Regions from separate parts of the Homo sapiens genome. Here region 2 is linked to region 1. Evidence: promoter capture Hi-C in human tissues and cell types (Jung and others, 2019). All regions are on one chromosome and are shown on one strand. Each heading gives the region's core, a stretch centred on a gene start or on the middle of the fragment in contact. The rest is flanking DNA. Distances are from core to core; before and after follow the strand shown.

Region 1 (4,023 bases), core at 721-3,220:
GGCACAGGAATGTACTCTGGTGGGTGGGCTGGCAGGTGGGAGCCAACCAGGCAGAAGAAGCAGGTTGGGGCCAGATTGTGTTGGGTTTGGACAGCCACGTGGAGAGGCTAGGCTTCTCCAGCATGGGAGGTGCCCCACTGAAAGACCGCAATACAGGCCTGTCTGATCCAGTGGCCAGGAGCTTTGAGCGCTTGAAATGTGGCTAGTGAAACTGAAGAATTCTAGATTTTGTTTAACTTTAATTAAAATGTAAACCCCGATTTCATTATTGAAAAATTTTTGCAGAATGTTTGAAACAGTACAGGCATGCGAATCGATTTTCACATGTACATTTTATGAAATCTAAATGCAGAACAAGCATTTCGGATGAAAATGTGGGGTCTGAACTGAAATATACTGTGGGTATAGGAAGCACACTGGATTTCAAACTTGAAGACTGTACAATAGCTCATTGATAATTGTTTTATATTGCTTACATGTTGAAATAATACTATTTTAGATATATAGGGTTAAGTAAGAAATATCAGGAACATTAATTTCACCTGTTTGCTTTCGCATTTTAAAATGTGGCTGCTAGAAAATTTTAAATTCCTTGTGGTAACAGTATCCCTATTGGACAGCACTGGCCTGAGATTCCAATGCTTTCAGTAGGATCTGAGAGGCCTCAGACACTGGCCTCTTAACAGCCCCTCCAGTGACTCAGATGCTGGTGGCTGGGGACCCTTCTTGGAGGAATTCTGCTTTAGAAAGGTACCTCTGAGCCAGTTGTGGAGTCTTGCACCTGTAATCCCAGCACTTTGGGAGGCAGGAGGATCACTTGAGCCCAAGAGTTTGATACCAGCTTGGTCAACATAATGAAACCCAGTCTCTACTAAAAATACAAAAATTAGCTGGGCATGGTGGCACTCGCCTGTGGTCCCAGCTAATCAGGAGGTGGAGGAGGGAGAATCACTTGAGCCTGGGAGGTTGAGGCTGCAGTGAGGCGTGAGTGTGCGACTGCACTCCAGCCTTGGGGACAGAGAGAGACTGTCTCAAAAAGAAAAAAGAAAGATCCCTCTGGGTACTGGCTGGAAGTTGGATTGAAGGTGTGGGCCTGGAGGCAGCAGGGCCGCTAGTGTCACCAGGAGGCGAGGGAAGAGGCCCAACTTCAGACGCTGAGAGACTCCCTGAGGGCTAGACAACCCCGAGCTTTCTCTTCGAGGGTCCCGGGTGCCGTCTGCCCTGTCCTGGCCACTAGACCTGGGGTGAGGGGGTAGCTAGGGGAGGGCTGGGCATGGCCCTCGGCCTTGGGGACAGATATTGGGCAGTGCTCTGGGGGAGTGAGTGTACCTCGAGGGGCTGCCGGCCCTGCTGGAAGCTGCCCTCTGGGGATTAACCCTGCACCCACTGGAGAGACCGCAGAAATGCCCCTTGGCACAGAAAGGAGCCCAACTTGGCCGCCCGTTCCTGTTCCTCCCAGGGTGAGAGCCAGGAGTGAGTGGCAGGAGCGTCACAGTAGTAAGGAGGGATTTTCTTTGTGACTCGCTCCTCCTGCCCTGATTAGCACTTAGGTCATGGAGATGAGGCTAATTTTTTGCTCTTGATTTTGCTAAAGATCCTTCGGTGATTTAGAAGCCTTTTTTTGGGGGTGGGGTGGGGTTGGGGGGGTGATACAGAGACAACAGAGCAACAAGTCTCTTTTCAGGGAAACTGTGTCTGCAGCAGATACCCTCCCCTGCCAAGCGCCCACGTCTCGCAAACCTGACACTCTCCGCCCGCCGAGGCAGGCCTGCAGAGCCTACCTTGACTATGTCCTCGTTAATGTTCTTGGGGTCTCGGTTCACCAGGTCAATCTCCTTGCAGTGGATATCCTTGACGATCTGGGCCTCGAGATCTGTGTGCTCTTCTGCCATCATCGCAGAGCTGGGGGGATCCACAGGAGGAGATCCGAGCTGTGTGGCCGGCTGGGGCTGAAAATACTTGGGGCAGAGAGACCAATTCAGTGTCCCCAGACTTATGTCCCTGCCAGCTAAATAGGCCCCACCCAGCATGCCGGCTGACAGCTGTCCCACATAACTTCAGCCTGCCTCTCTCTAAAGCCTCCTGTGGCAGGCCTCCAAGCTAAAATTAAGACTGGAGCTCTTCTGGAAGGCCGATCGCTCCTTAAAGGGGGCTGCCTCAGGGCACTGGGCCTCAGGAGAGGGTGCAGAGGGCCTAGCGTTTCCTATGCATCGTGTGGCTGTGGCCAACTCGGCGGTCGCTCCGGGGCCCCTGGAATTTGCCCCACTGCTGTCAGCATTTTGGCTCCTTTGGGGTGCACTGCCCGTGGAGGGAAGTGGGGTTAGTCCCTCCTCTGCCTCTGGCTGGCTGTGTGACCTTTGGCACACTTCACCTCTCTAGGCCACTCTGTCCCCATCTGTAAAATGGAGAGATGATAATAACAATCAGGGCTCTCCTACCCAGGGAATGGCTTCAGGAGCTGGAATGCGATGTAGTGGGGCTTCTCGTTGGATTGCCAGTGCCTGGCCCTGCTGCTTGGTGACCTGGAGCAGGTCCGAGCTTTGTGGGTTTCTGAGGTTTCCACCTGGAGCAGGAGTTGATGGACTGTGGTGTGGGGCCAGGCTGGGGATGAAACAGGGAGAGGAAGCTGCTGTGGGGCTGCCCCTCGTCTGCCGTCTGGAGCCTGCACTGGGATATGCCCGGTGGGGGGAACATGAAGTCCATGTTCGTGCTACCCTTCACCCTGCCCTAGTGACAGCTTCCAGGATTTTCTTGGGTCCCAGACACTCCACATGCATCAGTGGGGTGCACCTCTCTTAGATACCTGCTCGGTTTTTCTGTGCCCTCTTCTAACTCAGCCTTCCCCTGGGCTCCAGCAGCATGAAGGATGGCAACTCTGAATCCTCAGGGGTCAGGGTCTGTGCTTCCATTTACCTGTCTATTCACTCCTTCATTCAGGATTTGCTAATAGCTGGGGATAAACAGACCAACAAGGCTCTGTCCGCCTTGAAGTGCTCCCAGTCAAGGTGGGGAGACTAATTAAAACAATAAGTGATTATAATACTGTGCGGTAAGTGCCACAGATCAGAGATATTTTACAAAGAGCTGGTCTTAGAAGTCCATAGGAGTCAGTAACTTACTCTGAGGACACCGGGGAAGACTTCCTGTGGGAGGTGGCTTTGCAGATAGGTATCGAATGACAAGCAGGAGCTCAGCACCTAGAACACTTCAAGTTACAGGATTGTGGATATTGAGGAGTGGTATAGACAGGAATGTTGAAAAGTGTGGAGTGGCTGGAGCACAGGGTGTCTGGGGTTGAGGCAGGAGATACAGCTCAGCTCAGGCCTGGGTGTGCAGCATCCCAAATGTCATACTAAAGAATGTGGATTTTGTCTAGGGGTGCTGGAAAGCCATTGAAGGCTTCAAAGCAGGACAGGGTCGGTATCAGATTTGTGTGTGAGGAAGCTCCCTGGTGGCCAGGTGGAGGGTGGATTGGAGCTGGGTGAAGTTTGAGGTAGGAGGGGGAAAACCAGAGGTGATTTAGGCTTTATCAATAATTACACCTGGCTAGTAACACAAAGGATGCAAAAGTAATAGTGACTTGAATAAGGTAGGAACTTTTTTTCTCACTTAACACAAGTAGTTCAGAAATATTATAGTGGCTCCATGATGTCTTCAGACATCTGGACTCCCATCCTTCTGTTCTGCTAGCCCGAAAGCCACCTCATAGGCACAAGATGTCTACTGCTCCTCCAATCATCATCTCTGAGTCTGGATAAGAAGAAAGAGGAAGGGGCAGGGACAAGAAACGACATCTGCGAACTGAGTCGGCTCTGTTATAAAGCTTTGTTAGAAGTCCAACCCAACTACTTCTGTTTATATCTCATTGGTCACTCCTGTCTTGGCAAACGATGATGGAACTGTAGGTTTTTTAGCTTGAGCACATTTTCGGCACCCCCACAGTGTTACTAGGGATAAATGGTGGGCAACCAGAAAACTGTCCCTAAGTCGCTTAGGATTAAGAGGTAACTTTTTTTGTTGCTT
Region 2 (4,023 bases), core at 1,037-3,536, 1.6 Mb after region 1:
GGTAAAACCAGTAATGCCTGGAGAGAAATGGCATTAGACAATTGTTTCTGTGGTCACTAAGCCTAATAACTACCAACTCTCAAAGGAAGAAATTATTTTTGCCACCATCACCAGACTCTGTTGGTACAGTCTGAGTATTTCCGTCCAACACAACAGGTATGCACCCCTGAAATATGCTGATAATGAATCCAGGAAAACAAACCTCCCAATTTAGAGCATCTTCCCTGTAAAGTTTGCAGTTTTATTGCCAGGGTCTTTGCATAAGAGCCCTCTGGAAGAATCTAAGGTTTGAGAGTGGCAGTAATGAGACATCTGAAAGGCAATGTCTATAAAAGGTAATTTTCTGATCCTTGTTTTGTACCCAAATGCAGTACTGCCAGGTTGTTGATTTGTGAAACCTAGACTGTTCCAGGAGGATGAAAGATTCATTTCAACCCTCTGACACATATATGCTTATTGATTCAGGCTCTCTCTTACTAAACCTTCTATTTGTACAGAATAATCAGGAATTAATCTGGAATAATGTGTCGCCTTCCCTTCTAGGCCCTCTCCATGATTAGTGAGGGCAGGCGTCATTTAATTAGATGATCTGAGTGACACCATTACAGCTACCTGTCCTGAATGACTTCCCATAGAAGTCTCCAGGGAAGAGTAACATTTATAATAGATTAGCCCTTCCCTTGATTTAGAAAGCAGAGATGGAGTTATCATCCACCAGCCTTTTATAGACCTTAACTTGAGAAAAAGGCTCTTGTCAATATTCCTATAGCATCTATCTATATATCTATCTCATTGGCAGGAGCAGCAAGGAGATACTGGCACTCACAGCAACACAGGAAAAGGGGGATTTGAGAAAGAAATTAGCACGCTCAGAGCACCTAGGATTTTTTCAGGTGCTTGACATATGTTATTTTGCATCTTCCTGGGACAACTTCAGCAAGTCTGTTATCACTAGCAAAGAGAAGCTAAGAAAATTGCACACAGAAGCAGAGTGACTTTAAGCAGATGGAGAACCAACATTGTCCTAAAGTTTGTACTTATTAAAATATAGCATTATGGTTCAGATCATGTGCTCTGGAATCTAAAATCATTAGATTTAAGTCATCTCTTACCCAAGTATTTAGCCATCTGACCTTAGATAAGTGGCATAGTTTCTCTGTGACTTAGAATACATATCTATGGATTGAAGTGAAAAGACTGAATCACAGAATAGCAAAAATGACACATGAAAATCATCTTCATTCAGTGATTGGCACACAGCAAGTTTTTGTCAAATAGTGCCTTTCACTACCTCATCCGAGCTCCTTCTCATGAGGGCCATTTGCAGAGGAGCAAGGGGTGATAGCATGCCATGCTGCCACCAGGAGAGGGCAAAACATGGGGTGGGCAGCAGTGATGATCTCCAATTGTTCCTGAGATCAGCGATGAAAGGAAAACACCACGAAACTGGTCATTAGAAACTGGAAAAACTTGGTCCAAACCTGTTTCTGACTTTTACCCCAGACCTGCTATGTTATACTCCCAATTTATTCTAATTAGCTATGTACTCCAGGCTTTCCAAAAGTGCAGCGTTTGGATAGTGCCAAGAAACACAAGTTCTGTGGTGATTTCAACAGAACCAGGTACGCAGAGGAAAAAAGTTTTCTCAATTGGACCTGTGCGTTTATTTCAAAGCAGCAGATTAATTAGCTTTATTGATCCTTTTTGTGGCTGTATTAGAGGAAAGAGGAGACTGCATTTTCCAGATGTGCATGTTTAATCCTTAGTAAATTTTATGTATTAAAAAATGTATTCTGTTGTTTTAGAACAAAGCCCCTCAGTTTATCAGGGGGTCACCAGATGTGAATGTATAAACCAGAGTTAAATAATTGGAGAATAGATTTAGTAGAAAGTTGACTGTATTTTATAATGATTATTATTTTTAACAAAGTAGGTTTTGAAGTAAGGTATGTGAAGGGACTGAGCATCTTCAGAATGGGTTGCATTTGTGTAATAACCTCATTGCTCATTAAACCATTACAATGTTAAGTAGCCTGACAGCAAGTTCCACTTCTAGTAAGTATGTGCTATTGTTCATATCTGCACTAGAGTAAACCAAGGATTATAAAAGTCATTGAACTTACACGTTTTCCCCAAAATGTTAAGCTTTATCTCCATTAAGTCACACATCTTTACTTGCCATGACACAGCTGATTTTAAAAATTTCAGTATCTATTATCTGAGAGGCAATATGCATAGTAGCTGTATTTAGGGCAATTGAAATCAGATAAATATCTGTTCAAAATCTAACTCTGTCATTGAAGTCCCGTGTCATCTTTGAAAACTTACTTAATCTACAAAATGAGATAATTTATAGAGATGTTACCACTAAAAATAATACAAGTAAATCACTTGTCAGTATACCAGACGCAAACTAAATACTCAAATGACAATTGCTATTTTCACTTCGGCCATAGAAAACCATACCGTTGAGGGTTTGCACCAGAATTCTGGTGATGGCTCATGAGTTGGGAGTGGAGACAGATACCATATTTCATCACATCTTATACCATCTACTAATAAGATGCACCATTATTTAATATGCCATGAAGAACAACAATGACAAAATACAAAAATAAAAAACACTGCAAATATAAATTTGTCCAAAGCCATAGAATGGGCAACACCAAGAGTGAACCCTAAAATAAACTTATGAACTCTGGGTGATGGTGATGTGTCATTGTAAGTTCATCAAGAGTCATGCCTGTAATCCCAGCACTTTGGGATGCTCAGGCAAGAGAATTAATTGAGCCTTGGAGTTGGAGACCAGCCTGGGCAATATGTTGAAATATTATTTCTAGATAAAATAATACATTGGAACAAATGTACCACTGAGGTGCAGGATGTAGATAAGGAACGAGGCTGTGTATTTGTTGAAGCAGGGGAAATATGAGAATTCTCTGTACTTTCTGCTCAATTTTTCTGTGAATCTATACCTGCTCTAAAACAAAGTATTAATAAAAATAAAATAAAGTCACTATAATTAAACTATGACAATGCATTCTTACCACTTAGAATTGTTTCGTACATATTTTTTAATTTTTTTCACGTATTTTGAAAGAAACATTTCAAGTACACAATGATTTTTAAGTGTGTTTTATAGTGTTAAAAAAAAGCAGTAATGGTATTACTAAAAGTTCATCAGGACCCAGCTCTTCTCAATCACTTTTTTTCCCTTGGAATCATCAGTCTATGTTTCATTACTTTTCCTACAGAGTTTTCATCTAAGCTCATTTTGAAAAGTTTGATGCTAGTGCTGTCTAACCTGAACCAACTCAGTTTTGTTTCTTTCTCTATGGAGTCACAGGCTGCTGAAAGGGAAGGAGCTTCTGTTCAAAGTTAACAGGAAGTGGTAGTCCTATTGTTTGATGTGTGGCCAATACACCTGCTGAATCAGTCATACCAGTCACTCATGACCTTGAAATTCCTTTCTTCTATTCTGAGGGATAGGAAAATTTCTCCTGAAGCTGGTAGCACAGCTTGGCACATGGCATCAATACATTTACCACTAGTCATGCACATGGCTTAATTGAAGTGATGACAGTCATGGCCATGATGGAGCACAAGCCAAGTGAGGACAAAAACAACCGAGTGGGGGCTGCCACACACCAGGCTGATGGCACACCAGGCTGATCAGCATCCATTGCAAGATAATTCTCAAAGTCAGAGATATAAAAATGTGAAGCAAATGCATTTTAAGAATCATAAGGCCAGGTGCAGTGGCTCATGCCTGTAATCCCAGCACTTTGGGAGGCCGAAGCAGGCAGATCACAAGGTCAGGAGATCGAGACCATCCTGGCTAACATGGTGAAACCCCATCTCTACTAAAAATACAAAAAATTAAAGAAGCATGGTAGCACATGCCTGTAGTCCCAGCTACTCAGGAGGCTGAGGCAGGAGAATCGCTTGAACCTGGGAGGTAGAGGTTGTAGTGAGCTGAGATCGTGCCACTGCACTCCAGCCTGGGTGACAGAGTGAGACTCT

Evidence for each region. The method cuts DNA at HindIII sites, captures the fragments that hold promoters and counts their contacts. A contact is called where the count stands out against the background at its distance.
Region 2: a fragment that was not itself captured here is called in contact with the fragment with the promoter of CAV3 in region 1 in 1 of the 25 tissues and cell types used here (dorsolateral prefrontal cortex).

Annotation. Positions count from the first base shown.
Region 1 is chr3:8,731,749-8,735,771 of GRCh38, reverse strand. It overlaps CAV3 (caveolin 3), which reads right to left and starts at 1,970. Exons shown (of 2, transcript NM_033337.3): 1 at 1,782-1,970. The coding sequence starts at 1,895. The HindIII fragment of the contact is 9,052 bases long and covers 1-3,993 here.
Region 2 is chr3:7,112,248-7,116,270 of GRCh38, reverse strand. All of the region lies in intron 1 of GRM7 (glutamate metabotropic receptor 7), which reads right to left. Among named protein-coding and RNA genes, the nearest start is that of GRM7-AS2, 220 kb to the right of the region's middle. The HindIII fragment of the contact is 7,713 bases long and covers 1-4,023 here.